2 separate regions of the Homo sapiens genome follow, and region 1 is linked to region 2. Evidence: promoter capture Hi-C in 16 types of primary human blood cells and fetal thymus (Javierre and others, 2016). All regions are on one chromosome and are shown on one strand. The core of a region is centred on a gene start or on the middle of the fragment in contact, and the rest is flanking DNA. Distances in the headings are between cores, read along the strand shown. Region 1 holds the start of STAB1 (stabilin 1). Region 2 holds the start of ALAS1 (5'-aminolevulinate synthase 1).

Evidence for each region. The method cuts DNA at HindIII sites, captures the fragments that hold promoters and counts their contacts. A CHiCAGO score of 5 or more calls a contact.
Region 1: a contact is called between the fragment with the promoter of STAB1 here and the fragment with the promoter of ALAS1 in region 2, in 6 of 17 cell types (naive CD8 T cells, monocytes, activated CD4 T cells and 3 more). The highest score is 9.2, in naive CD8 T cells.

The regions. Positions count from the first base shown.
Region 1 is chr3:52,493,092-52,500,545 of GRCh38, forward strand. STAB1 (stabilin 1) reads left to right here and starts at 2,247. Exons shown (of 69, transcript NM_015136.3): 1 at 2,247-2,400. The coding sequence starts at 2,323. The HindIII fragment of the contact is 21,004 bases long and covers 1-7,454 here.
Region 2 is chr3:52,194,641-52,201,167 of GRCh38, forward strand. It overlaps ALAS1 (5'-aminolevulinate synthase 1), which reads left to right and starts at 3,520. Exons shown (of 12, transcript NM_000688.6): 1 at 3,520-3,615; 2 at 4,032-4,208; 3 at 4,570-4,800. The coding sequence starts at 4,602. It also overlaps the pseudogene ALDOAP1. RefSeq lists enhancers at 3,062-3,131, 3,142-3,361 and silencers at 3,502-3,571, 3,682-3,761. The HindIII fragment of the contact is 12,746 bases long and covers 1-6,151 here.

The sequences.
Region 1 (7,454 bases), core at 997-3,496, 300 kb after region 2:
CTGGGATCCCAGCAGGGCTTCCGTCCAGGGCGTGGTCACATGGGGGAGGGAGGGTGCCCTGGAGACAGGAGGGTGAGGGGTTGGGGGAAAGGAAGGAGCAGCCCTCCAGGAGCCAGATGCTTCTTGGAACATGGGAGGCATGACAGGGCCATGGCCTCTCTGGACAGTGCCATGCTGGGCTGTGGCTAAACCATGAGCGCAGGGCAAACAAGAAACTCCTCAGGGCACCCCTGACACACCAGCCGCTGCCCCTCTGCCTGGGTGCGGGGCATGCCACCCTCTTCAGGCTGTCCTGCAGGTCTTATGTGTCAGTCACCCCTGGGCCCAACCCCACCTGTTTCACAACCCCTGTTGAGAGTGGGGGAGGGGCGAGGAGGACAGAGAGATCCCAGAGTCTGAGGTGGCTGGTGGGGGCCGGGGCATCTCACCAAGGTGGCCCTTGAATGGCAGCAGGGGAGGTCTGTGGGGAGGTGGACCCAGGTGGTGGACAGTGGAGGGAGGGGCACATACCCATCTGTGTCTGTCTTCATGTCCCTGAAACATGAGGCTCATGGGCCCCTCCCTGAGGGTTGCTTCAGGGAGCCTGCTGAGGTAGGACCTGGGATTTTGGTAGCCAACCCCATGCCACACTCTTCCCCAACCCCATTCCTGCTGCCAGAGCAGGGCCTATGAGCCCCACATAACTCATCCTGGCCCAGCCAGGAGCCTCAGTCCCCAGGACCTTGGGGCAGCCAGGCCAGGCAGGGCTGTGGAGAGGTGGGTGGCGTGGCCAGCCTGGGTCCCAGGCCTGCTTCTGTTCCCCCGTTTCCCTTGGTGCCAGCAGAGTGGGGGTCCTGCCTGGAGGACCCTTCACCCCCAGGAAGACTGTGGGTGTGGGGAATGTGGGGAGGGTTTCCCCTTGCAACCCCCATCCCAGCCAGATCTCAGGCCTGCCTGAAGGCCCCTCCAAACTGATGGGAGTGGAGGTGTGCTGGGGAGGAGAAACTTTCCCCAACCTGGCCTTTACCAAAGCATTTACAGATGGCCACCGGGCTCTGGCCCACTCCTGTCTCCCCAACTGTTACGCCGTCTGCAGTTGGGGGTAGTGACAACTGGAGGCAAGGCCCACCACGTGCAGCCCTGGCACGCAGAGGCCCTCAGCCTGGGCCCACTGCACCTCTTGGGGGTGCTGGCTGTGCAGGCAGTGGTGGCTTCAGACAGTAGCCCTGGGATTGGATATGAAAACTGATTACCTCAGACAAGCTACCCAGCCCCTCTGAGCCTCAGTTTCCCCACCAGTAACAGAGGGATCATAAAAGTAGCCACCTCCATTCATTTATTCCTTCTGCACACGTGTATTGAGCATCCACTGTGCGAATCAGCCAGACAGCGCCCCTACTCTTCCACAGCCAATGTTCCAGGGGAGACAAATGAAACAAGCCAATGTCAGCTGGTGGCTGGTGCTGCCAGGTGAACCAGGTGCAGGGCCACCTGCAGGCTGAGACCAGGGAGGCGCTCTGAAGTGGTGGCCCTTGACCTGAGACCACCTGTGAGAAGGAGCCAGAGTGTGACAATCTAGGGTAGCAGCACATGCCGGGAGAGCTCACTGAAGGAGCAGAGAGGCCTGCGCGGCTGGAGCAGACCTGTCTGGGGAGAGTTCAGAGAGACCAGCCAGCTGGAGAGGGGTTTGGAGGTGCTGCAGCAAGCTGGCTGAGCATGGGCTGCTGAGTGGAGGGCAGATAGGGAGGCAGGGAGGGTGGATGGGGGTTGGCGGGCAGGACCAGCGGCTCAGGAGTGGCTGGGGCTAGTGAGGGGATGTGGGTCTGGTGGGCTAGCAGGGTGCCTGTAGCGAGTCAGAGCCCCATGAGCGCCCTGGAGTTGGAAAGGTGGAGGCAGGAACAGACAGACCCATTCAGGGGCTGCCCTGCCTTCCGCCGACCAGCACCCCAGGAGCCTCTGAATGAAACACACTGGGCTCGCAGGCGGGGGACTCGTTCACGTGTGCCTTTGGATTTGCTTCAGAACCTCTGATAGAGCCCAGGTCCCGGGGCTCATGGTGGCCTGGACTTCCAGGTTGTGATGCCAGGAGGGTCCCAGCCGGGAAGCCCCGAGCAGGGCTCAGGCCGCCCATGGGGGGTCAGTGGCCAGCACCTTCCCTTCCGCCTGCAGGCTGCTGATATGCAGGAGGAAATCCTGGCGGGTTCCTGTGGGGGTGAGCTGGCGGGGCCTCCGGGCTGCTTTTAAGGCCACTGCCCGCCCCGTCCCGCCTGCCTGTGCTGTGCCTGCCTCCTAGAGCTCATTCCCTACGCCCCGACTCTGTCCTGGACAGCGTGCCCACCAGCCATGGCGGGGCCCCGGGGCCTCCTCCCACTCTGCCTCCTGGCCTTCTGCCTGGCAGGCTTCAGCTTCGTCAGGGGGCAGGTAAGTGTGAGCCAGTCGCAGGGGCACACGGCGTCTGGGCCCTGCCGGCCAGCGGTGGGAACAGGGAGGGACTGACATGGAGGGGCAGGGGCCTGGGGAGAAACCGCAGCTGGCGCCTGTCTGGCCTCTTAGCAGGCCTGGGGGCTGGCTATTGTGCCCACCTCCCCAGTCTGAGGTCTGCGTCCAGCCACCCAGGGTTCAGGGGTGTGTCAGCCCACCCTCCTCTGACTATGCGGGGCCGGGGCTCCCCAGCGTGCAGCTGAAGTGTACAGAGGCAGGCCTGTCCTGCCCTTCTGGCCCAGACGGAGGCCCAGGTCTTATGTGGCCCTCACCTGGGGGTTGAAGATGTGATCACCTCCAACCCCCGAGGACTACAGATTCACGTGGGGCAAGTGTGTGCACATGTGTGTGCCTGTGTCCAGCCCCAAGAGTACCGGGAAGCAGAATGAGTCACTCACCCTTAGTGTCCGGGGTTATGAGCAGCTGGCAAGGACACACTTCAGCCTCAGAGCTGCCACAGAGCAGCCACAGCCCCGGGCAGGTCCCCTTGAATCCTCACAGCCTCGGGGCAACTCCTCCTGTCCTCCTCGTGAGGAACCCGAAGCCCTAGGATGATGGGGACAGGCCATTCCCACTCTAAAGCCATGCTCCAAACCCCTGCCTGTGATGGCCATCCGTGTGTGCTGGCGAGCAGACAGGGTCCTGGTATGCAGCCACAGCCAGCCCCTCGGTCAGGTCCCTGTGACAGGCTCCTGGCTGCAGGTCTGCTCAGGCCCCATGGTAGGGGCCTCTGGGAGCTTCTGGAAGAGCCTCCCACCCTGGTGATGGGGGTAGTCTCTCTCCTGTGAGGCTGAGCGTGTCTGCCTCCTGGAGCAGCAACCACTATCCCCATGGCACAGATGGCCAGACTAAAGTCCAGAGCGGGGAGGACTTGCCCAGGATCCCACAGGCAGTCCAGCCAGGGGCCTAGGCCCCCTGCCACCATCAGGCGCTTTCTCTTGGATGCCTGTGGTCCCTCAGAGAGGCAGCAGGGAGAAGGGCCTCACCAGCTTCAGGACCAGGCCAGGGCTGGGGACAGGAAGATATGAGGCTGAGAAGGCGACAGTGATGGGGGAAGAGCCAAGGGTTCCAGGGCTGTGCTGAGAGCCCTGCAGGTAAGCTCCTGCCCTCCCCTTAACTCAGTTTCCCCCTGTGTACCATGCAAGGGAATTTCAAAGGCCTCCGCCACCTCCTCATGCTCTGGGCAGTGAGGACAGAGGTCAGTGAGGGGCCTCAGATTCGAGTTTTTTCCTTGTCAGAGACCTATGGCTCTGACCACTCCTTGTGGATGGGGCTGCAGCAGTGCTGGCCACTCTAACACAGCTACGTGGCCTCTATCCCAGCACCCTGCATAGCCGAGAGCCACTGTAAGTGCAGTTGGCCCTCTGTATCTGTGCACCCTGTACTTGGGTTCAACCAACCCTGGATTGAAAATATTCAGGAAATAAAATGGCATCTCTACTGAACATGTTCAGACTTTTTTTCTTTTGAGGTGGAGTCTCGCTCTGTAGCCCAGGCTGGAGGGCAGTGGCGTGATCTCGGCTCAGTGAAATCTCCACCTCCCAGGTTCAAGCGATTCTCCTGCCTCAGCCTCCCGAGAACTGGGATTACAGGCGCCCGCCACCACACCCAGCTAATTTTTGAATTTTTAGTTTCACCATGTTGACCAGGCTGGTCTGTAACTCCTGACCTCAGGTAATCCACCTGCCTCAGCCTCCCAAAGTGCTGGGATTACAGGTGTGAGCCACCGTGCCCAACCCCATGTTCAGACTTTTCTATGTACATAGCATTTACATTGTATTCGGTATTATAAGTCGTCTAAGGATGACTTAAGGTATACGGGAGGATGTGCATAGATTATATGTGAATTCGATGCCTTTTTTTTTTTTTTTTTTTTTTTGAGATGGTGTCTCTCTCTGTTGTCCGGGCTGCATTACAGTGGCGCTATCTCAGCTCACTGCAACCTCTGCCTCCCAGCTTCAAGGGATTCTCCTGACTCAGCCTCCCAAGTAGCTGGGACTACAGGCGCACACCACCACACTTGGCTAATTTTTGTGTTTTTATTAGAGACAGGGTTTCTCCATGTTAGCCAGCCTGGTCTCGAACTCCTGATGTCAGGTGATCTACCCTCTTCGGCCTCCCAAAGTGCTGGGATTACAGATGTGAGCCACCACTCCCAGCCTCGATTCCATTTTATACCAGGGACTTGAGCATCCACAGATTTTGGTATCTGAGGAGGGTCCTGGAACCAGTCCCCCATAGACACCAAGGAACAACTATATTAGGAGTGGAAGCTCTGAGGGGAAAGGATATCCCGGGTAACCTGTTCAGTAAGGGCAGCAACAGGACTGGAGTGAAGATGGGTTTGGGCAGCGAGGCAGGAAGGCTTTCCTGGAAGGCCCTTAGCACTTGCCCATTCAGCAGCTTTTCACCGAGGGCACGTGGCTAGGTGTGTGCAGTGGAGCCTGTGGCGGGAGAGGAGCACGGTCCAGAACCCAGCCCTGCACCCTCCCTGATCTGACCAAAGGTAGGGGGAAGCAGTTTGGGGTTCCTTCCTCTCTGACAGGGTTTAGATTCTGGGCTCTCAGCCTTAAAAAGTCCCCATGAACCAGGTCCCAGCTTGGGAGAATTTCATCCACCTTCTCACCAAAGACTTCACACTTCGTGTCTCCTCAACTTCCCCCAGCAGCAGCTCTGTGGGAAGCAGACATTGCAAAATCAGGTCTGCGGGGGGTGTGGGGTTGGGGGGGAGACAGCACCCGCTCTGGCTCAGTCCCGAGGTGCCCCCAGGAAGGAGGGAATCTGACTCAGCACTCAGGCCGTGATCCAGCCTCACTCCACCCAGCTGGACCAACGGCAAGATGTGGGCTCAGACCGCCGATGCTCCTTCCAGGCCATGGGGCGGAGGCAGGGCCCCTCGGCTGTGGTCTCGGAGAAGCACTGATGTGGCAGCAGGCTTACCATTCATCAGCATTTCACACACGTTTACAAACACCCAGGTCCTGTGAGTGAGTGTCCACACCAGGCCCCAAAGCTCCCGCTTCCTTCTGGGCCCTAACTCACCCATCGCTCCATCTAGCCCTGACTGTCTCAGAGTGCGACCAGCACAGTCTTACTCAGCCTGAGCCCTTATCCAGAGCTGACCACCATTCCTCCAAGAGCTGGTCCACAGCCAGAATGGTGACCGCGCTGGCAGCTTTGCCCAGCTGGCCAGGTGGCTTTGAGGGGAGCCCACCTCCTGCCAAGCCTCTACCCTGAGCCAGCAGCTGCTCAGCCCTCAAGTTACCCAATTTCCTAGTCTCTCCCTGGCTCAGCAAAGGCGAGCCTCAGGATGGGGAACGAGACCACAACATCCCAGCTCCGCCGTTCAACACAGGCTGCTCTGAGCAACTTCCCTGTTTGCAGACCGCAGAGGCATGAGCGGAAAAGGCCAAATCACGGTAGCACAGAGGCTCTGGGGCCCTGGTATTTGCCATAAGAAAGTGTCAGGGGCACCATTTCTCCTTTTCTCTTGCTTTGAGAAGCCACACATCTGTAAATTATTCCAGGAAAGGGATGTTCTGGGGTCACTCCCTTTGGACCACAGTGTGGTCAGCATTTTTCAAGATGAGAACATCTCCACTTCTCTGGGCCATGCCCAAAGCCTCCCAAACACCTCCCCTCCAACCTATGCCCCTTCCCTATGCCCCTTCCTCCCACTAGAACTGGGAGTTTAGCTTCACGCCTCCTGGTTCAGTGCTGAAGGTTGCTGGGACTTTGTTGCCGTAGAAGGCTGGTGGACTTCCAGGAGCTATGGCAGGCCAGTGAATGGGACTCCAGGCCTGGGGCTTTTGTCAGCATCCTTGTGCCCATGCCGTGGTGGCAGGCTGGACTCCTCACATCTTCCACGCCCCACCCAGTTGCTGAGACCTTCTCCCAATTCATCTCACCACCCCAAGCCCTCTCAAATATCTCCCAATCCATTTCCACTGTCCCTGCCTTGGCCCAGGCCACCTTCAGGTAATGATGGCCTCTTTCCCACCACACCTGCCCCTGCGACTGTATTCTCCATGCAGCAGCCAGAGGGCCAATTTAAAACAAACTGGCCGGCCGGGCGCGGTGGCTCACGCCTGTAATCCCAGCACTTTGGGAGGCCGAGGCGGGCGGATCACGAGGTCAGGAGATCGAGACCAACCCCGCTAAAACGGTGAAACCCCGTCTCTACTAAAAATACAAAAAATTAGCCGGGCGTAGTGGCGGGCGCCTGTAGTCCCAGCTACTTGGGAGGCTGAGGCAGGAGAATGGCGTGAACCCGGGAGGCGGAGCTTGCAGTGAGCCGAGATCCCGCCACTGCACTCCAGCCTGGGCGACAGAGCGAGACTCCATCTCAAAAAAAAAAAAAAAAAAAAAAAAACTGGCCAGGCACAGTGGCACATGCCTGTAGTCCCAGCTACTCGGGAGGCTGAGGCAGGAGGATCGCCTGAGCCCAGGAGTTCAAGATTACAGTGAGCTAGGGTCACACCACTGCACTCCAGCCAGGGCGACACAGCGAGACCCTTTCTCAAAGACAAAAAACCATAAACTGAGTCATGGGGCTGCCCTGGACTCTGCCTCACCCAGGTTTACGGAGCTCCTGCACCCCAGCTGCCAGCCCCTCTCCAGCCTCCCCTCGGGCCACTGCCTGCCTTGTCACACATTTGTTTTTACTTCTTTCCACTCCCGGCCTTTGCTTCTGCTGTCCCCTAGGCCAGGAGCACTGTCCTTGACCAATTCTCATGCATCCTTCAGGTCCCAAGTCAATGACCACCTCCCTCAGGAAACCACCTGGGGCCCCAGCCAGGATGCCCTGGGTTTCCTCAGAGGCTGGCATGGCCCGTTGTCTCCTGTGACTGCCCAGCCCAAACACTTGCAGACCAGAGTCCCTGCACACAGCTGCTCACGTGAGCCCAGCCTCTCAGGGCCAGGGCCCTTAGTCTCTGATTCCTGGGCAGCGGAGAAAGCCCTTGCGCTTGGTTAGAGAGGGTCATTTGGTAGCA
Region 2 (6,527 bases), core at 2,270-4,769:
GAAGAAGGAGAACCTGAAGGCTGTGCAGAAGGAGTATGTCAAGTGAGCCCTGGCAGATAGCCACGCCTGTCAAGGAAAGTATACTCCAAGCGGTCAGGCTGGGGCTGCTGCCAGTGAGTCCCTCTTCATCTTTAACCATGCCTAGTAAGCGGAGGTGTTCCCAGGCTGCCCCCCAACACCCCAGGCCCCATCCCCTCCCACGCTCTCTTGAAGAGGGGGACTCCTCTTCGGGGCTCCAGGCTGGCTTGCCCGCGCGCTTGCCTCCCTCGTGACAGCGGTGTGTGTTGTCTGTGAATGCTAACTCCATCACCCTTTCTAGCACATTGCTAATAAACAGCTATTTAAGGGAGAAAAAATAAAAATAAAAATAAAAATAGTTCCTGGGGCCCAGAATAAAAAGGGGGAATTCTAGGGGCTGGGGTTGACATTTTCCTTTTGCCTTGACCATTGGGTGGGTACTATGTGCAGCAGCCCCGGACGGTGATAGTGATGGTAATGATGACCATGATGCAGACTGGGTGGGAGGGAAAAAAGTCCCCAGCGTCATCCCTGGGATGGGGCCTGACCTTGCCTCAACTCCAGCTGCCCAGGGCCAGAGCGAGTGATAAGATGAGTTTATACTGTAGCTCTGAGAAGGAAGGGAGGGAGGGAGAAGGAGGGAAGGAGGGAAAAGGGAGGGAGGGGTAAGGGAGAGAGAAAAAGGGAGAGAAAGGGAAAAGAAGATGGGGAAGGAGGGAAGGACAAGGGAGGAGTGAGAGGCGAAGAAGGAGAAGGAAAAGAAGAAAAAGAAAGAAGAAGAGGAGGAGGGGGCGGAGGGGAGAAGAAGAGGCCCCGAAGGATCACAACTGGAGCAGAATAGTGCCCACCCAGACTCATCACTGAGGCAGATGGGGTCATTCTCATTTCACAGACACAAAAACTAAGATTTAAGGCATGAGGCAATTTGCTCAAGATCTCAGAGTTAGGACTAGAACTCATGGCTTATGCCTTGCTCTTCAAGGTCTCAAACCTTGAACCACTCAAGAAACATATTCCAAGATACCTCACCCTTACCTCATCAGAAAGGGGAGCTGGTTAAAATGCAGATTTCTGGGTCAAAATCAAAGGTGTGTGGCACAGGAATCTGCATTTTGACCGGTACCCTGGGGGTGGTTCTTTGGGCCCTGACACTGGGAAACCCCGTGGCTCATTTAGGGCCTTTCTGGTCTGACCTCTTGGCGTCAGGTCCTGACCATACTCCCGTTGCCCAGCTATTTGGGCTGACTCACGCTGACCCCCCAACCGCCACCCCCACAGGGCTGAGCCTTTTCCATCCAAGGCTTCACCCACAGTCTCCCAGTCGCATGTAGATCCACCCTTCCAACCAGCACCCGCTTCTCTTCTGGAAGCCTTCCTCGTGGTTGGGATCCTCCTCTTTCAGCGCCTGTTGGAGTAATAGCCTCCTCCTCTTCCTCCATCTGGAGTTGCTTACAACACTCTATTTCACTTTCCATGTGAGTCGGCCTTGTTTCCCAATCTTTCTCTATATTAAACAGGAAACTCCCAGAGGGCTAGGGACTGGCTGGTTTAAACAATAAGCCTCTGAAATACAGGACTTCACCTGACCCTCCTGCCAGCCACAAGTGGCAGGGCGGGAGAGCTTTACAAATCAGGAAACCAAGCCTTGAAGAGGTTGTGGCCTGCCCAAGTCTATGGCCAAGTAAGATTCAGAGCTGGGTTTGAAACCCATGCCCAACTCCACTATCCAGTTCTTTCTGCTTTGGCTTTGGCTCTGATCACCCCCAAAAAAACCCTATGAGGGCCAGGCGCAGTGGCTCAAGCCTATAATCCCAGAACTTTGGGAAGCTGAGGGTGATCACTTGAGGTCAGGAGTTCAAGACCAGCCTGGCCATCATGGTGAAACCCCATCTCTACTAAAAATACAAAAATTAGCTGGGCGTGGTGGTGTAATCCCAGCTGCTCAGGAGGCTGAGGCAGAAGAATCGCTTGAACCTGGGAGGCAGAGGTTGCAGTGAGCCGAGATTGTGCCACTGCACTCCGGCCTGGGCAACAGAGGGAGACTCTGTCTCAAACAAACAAACAAAATAACAACAACAACAAAAACAACCTGTGAGGCAGGCATTTCAGGGATTATGATCCTATTGCCCAGATAAGGAAAGCAAGGCCCAAAGATGAGCAAAGCACTCAATATCATCCTTATTCTGTTCCCACTTCCAGCTGCACTTGGGTCCAAGTCCAAGTGCTGACCTTTTCTCTCTCATCTTCTCTGGGTGATGGGCACTGCCCAGGATCTCTTGGCTGAATGGCACAGAACTGGGTCTCGAGCTCTCAGACCAAAGCCCTCATCCTGGACTGGTCCCACTGCCACTCTGAACCCAGGTGCCTCCTCTGAAGGTGGAGACTCACCTCACCTGCCTTGCAGCCAGCTGGGTGCTCAGAGACAGAAATGCAAAGTACCTGGACACACCCTGGTCACCATCATTCTGGACTTTGTCCCTCTTGTTAATGCTCAGCTGGGAAAGGAATACCCTCAAAGGCCCTTTCCTCAAGAATGGAGGAGAGTACCTCTGAGCCTGGCACAGGCCCAGCCCAACACAGCCCAAGCCAAGCTGGGAAGGGTGTGGGGCAAGGAAGCCAGACTGACATTCCTGAGACGGGTTTGCCAAGCCCTACACTTTATGTGTTGTACCCGGGAAACTCAATGGAGGTATGGCCCAACGCTGACCTTTGGCATGGAGGCCTAAGCCACCCTGCTGGTGCCCAGGGTGGCCAGCAAGGGGCTTCAGACAACCCTGGATGGAAAATAAAAATAGTGGCTAATATTTGTTACACGCTAACTATTGTCAGGCCCTGTGCCTTCCCCTCCTCCCCAAGTGCTCAGAGCTGTGGAGTGGATGGGTTCCACCCTAGCCCTGTTCCTCTGTCCCCTCTGGATCATCTTAGACCAGAAAGTGCCACAGCTGAGTGTCCCGCTTCTTCCGCATCCTGCCAGGACCACTCCATTTGTGGGCGATATAGCCAGCTCCACCTCCTCCGGGAAGCCCTTGTTCACAGTTTCCAAAGCAAGCCGCAGGCGGGATGGATCCTGCTTAACACCCCGGCCCAGAACCCCTTGGATCTCCTTCTTCCTCCATGTCCAAGACACCCAGCTTAACAACCCTGTAGCCCCCAACTTGGCCCTAGCGGCACCTCGCCTCGACCTTGCCATTTTATACTCAATTGGGGCGTAGGGTTCTGAAGCCCAGGGTAGTTGGTGGGGAGGCAGCACGAGGGTGCAGGATGAGGTCGGGAAAAGAGACCTCGTCCGCCCACCGCCTAGCGCTTCCTCCTCCCTGCAGGCGAGCCGGGGAATCCCCGGCAGCACCGATATCCGCAGAGCCCAAGAAGTGGGCCTCTCTGCCCCGCCCCCCCGGCTCGCCGAGGGCTACGCGGCGCGCCTGCGCAGAAGAAGGCAGCGCCCAAGGCGCATGCGCAGCGGTCACTCCCGCTGTATATTAAGGCGCCGGCGATCGCGGCCTGAGGCTGCTCCCGGACAAGGGCAACGAGCGTTTCGTTTGGACTTCTCGACTTGAGTGCCCGCCTCCTTCGCCGCCGCCTCTGCAGTCCTCAGCGCAGGTGAGGGCCCGCGCGGTAGGTGCGGCGCCGGCCGAGGAAGCCCCGGGGTGTCCTGCCAGCCGTGGCACCGCTGCCCCGGGTGCTGGGACCCCATCCCCCACTGTCCCAGTCACCCGCCGCCTTGAGGTCAGCGTTTATCCTCCAGATCTTTTGCCTAGACGGCCGCCTCAGTTTCCCCCTTTCGGCCCCTTCCGGCTATTCCCGGTTGAACCCGCCGCTTTAGAATTCCCTTCTCATACCCCTCCCGTCATTCTCGAGACCTCGACCGCGGGTCACCTCTGACCCCCACTGCCGGAGGACTGCCTTCTTTCTCCAGACTCAACTCCCTCGACTTTATAAGCCCCTGCGCGTCCCCAGTGAGGCCCAAGGCGCTGGCCCTCATACCCCTACCCTCATTTGTGCCCCTCCTTTCTCAGTTATGCCCAGTTCTTCCCGCTGTGGGGACACGACCACGGAGGAATCCTTGCTTCAGGGACTCGGGACCCTGCTGGACCCCTTCCTCGGGTTTAGGGGATGTGGGGACCAGGAGAAAGTCAGGATCCCTAAGAGTCTTCCCTGCCTGGATGGATGAGTGGCTTCTTCTCCACCTAGATGTAAGCCAAGATGTCTTATCTGCACTGTGCATCTCCCTAAGAAACCTCTGGCCTCCCAAACCTGTTCTTGACCTTTCCCTCATCCTTCCGCCCCCTTGATTATGTACTGTCAGTATTCATTTGGTGAAGTTGCTTTGCAGGTGCCTTTGTGTAGCGCTGGAGAATGAAGAAGTTGGTGACCCGGGTAAAGTGTGGTCACCATTCCTTAGCTCACATCAGTGCTGTCCTTAGGCATTTTTGAGGGAGAAGTGTTAGTATTCCAGGGTACCCTTTATATAAACTGCGGTTGACACCTGAATCCAGTGAGCTTGCAGTGATATTTGCCTGATTATTAACAACTGTTGATGTCACTCTTCATCAGTCTTTCCACAGGAGCCAGCATACTTCCTGAACATGGAGAGTGTTGTTCGCCGCTGCCCATTCTTATCCCGAGTCCCCCAGGCCTTTCTGCAGAAAGCAGGCAAATCTCTGTTGTTCTATGCCCAAAACTGCCCCAAGATGATGGAAGTTGGGGCCAAGCCAGCCCCTCGGGCATTGTCCACTGCAGCAGTACACTACCAACAGATCAAAGAAACCCCTCCGGCCAGTGAGAGTAAGTGTCATTGACAATGAAGGAGCAGGTATGGGTGTTTGTGCTCATTGGTAGACTAGAAGCAGTCCCCACAGTGGTGGTGAGGGTCACACTCACTCACAGAGGGCTGCTATGTGCAGGCTGGGCTCTGAGCACAGATTATCTCATATGATTGTCCCCCCAAGGGTAGGCACTTTTAGCTTTTCCATCTTTAAAGGTGAAACAGTGGCCAGTGTTGCACATTACAGGTTTTTGGATTGCACGTTAGTGTCTATAGGGGTTTTAGTGTTTCCTCAGTGCCTCGTTCACATAAATATTAAATTGGAATGTTCTAATTTCCCTCATTAAACATTTAGCCTTCTAATTTCCCTCATTAAACATTTGGCCTTCGGCTTTTTATTTATTTAATTTTTCTTTTTTGAGACTGAGTCTTGCTCTGTCGCCCAGGTTGGAGTGCAGTGATGCAGTCTCGGCTTACTGCAACCTCCACCTCCCAGGTTCAAGTGATTCTCCTGCCTCAGCCTTCCAAGTATCTGGAATTACAGGCATGCACCACCACGCCCAGATAATTTTTGTACTTTTAGTAGGGTTTCACCTTGTTGGTCCGGCTGGTCTCAAACTCCTGACCTCAAATGATCCACCTGCCTCAGCCTCCCAGAGTGCTGGGATTGCAGGCGTGAGCCACCGTGCCCGGCCCCTTTGGCTTTTTAAAGTAGTGATTTTTTTTTTCTTAAAAGTTTTTGTTCTGTTGTGGTAAAATGCCCAAGAAAAATTACCATTTTAAGCACTTAAAAATGTGCAGTTCAGTGGTACATTCATATTGTTGTGTCACCACCACCATCCATCTCCAGAACTTTTTTCATCTTCCCAAACTGAAATTCTATACCCATCAAACAGTAACTCTCCATTCCTCTCTCCCCAACCCCTGACAACCACCATTCTGCTTTCTGTCTCTATGAATTTGACTATTCTAGGTACCTCATATAAGTGAAATTGTACAGTATTTATTAGTGATTTTTAAAAACAAATTTATCTTGGCTGTGTGCAGTGGCTCACTCCTGTAATCCCAGCGCTTTGGGAGGCCGAGGTGGTTTGATCACCTGAGGCCAGGAGTTCGAGACCAGCCTGGCCACATGGTGAAACCCCACTGTTACAAAAAATACAAAATTAGCTGGATGTGGTGGTGTACGCCTGTAATCCCAGCTATTTGGGAGGCTGAGGCATGAGAATTGCTTGAACCCGGGAGGTAGAGGTTGCAGTGAGCTGAGATCATGCCATGTATCTTTATTTGTATATACATTTGTTGTTGTTGTTTTTAACAAAGAGACTAGAGTTGAATTTAGTTTGCTCTGCTTCTGATAGGAGAGAACAAAGCTTTTCAGGTTCCACTTAATCCCAGAGAATATTTTACAGGTTTTTCTTAGGCGTGTTCTCTGGGTGTGGGCTTGTAAGAAAATAAGTTTTTTTTTTCTTTAAGCAGAAAGGATTTAATCCTTTGTAGGGTTTATTTTCAAGAGTTAGTTACGTCTTTTTTACCAAAATGCTTGCAATGGCTATGTTTTAAATGATAGGATTTTTTTCTTTTTCTAGACTTTAATGAATATGTATTACTTTTATAATAAATGAAATTAACTTCAAAATAATTTTTTTGGCCTTCCGTTATAGAAGATTTTAATGAAAACTGTATTGAGACACTTTACCCAAGTTATAGGAAAGGCTAGCCAGTGACTCACAGGAGTGTTCCAGAA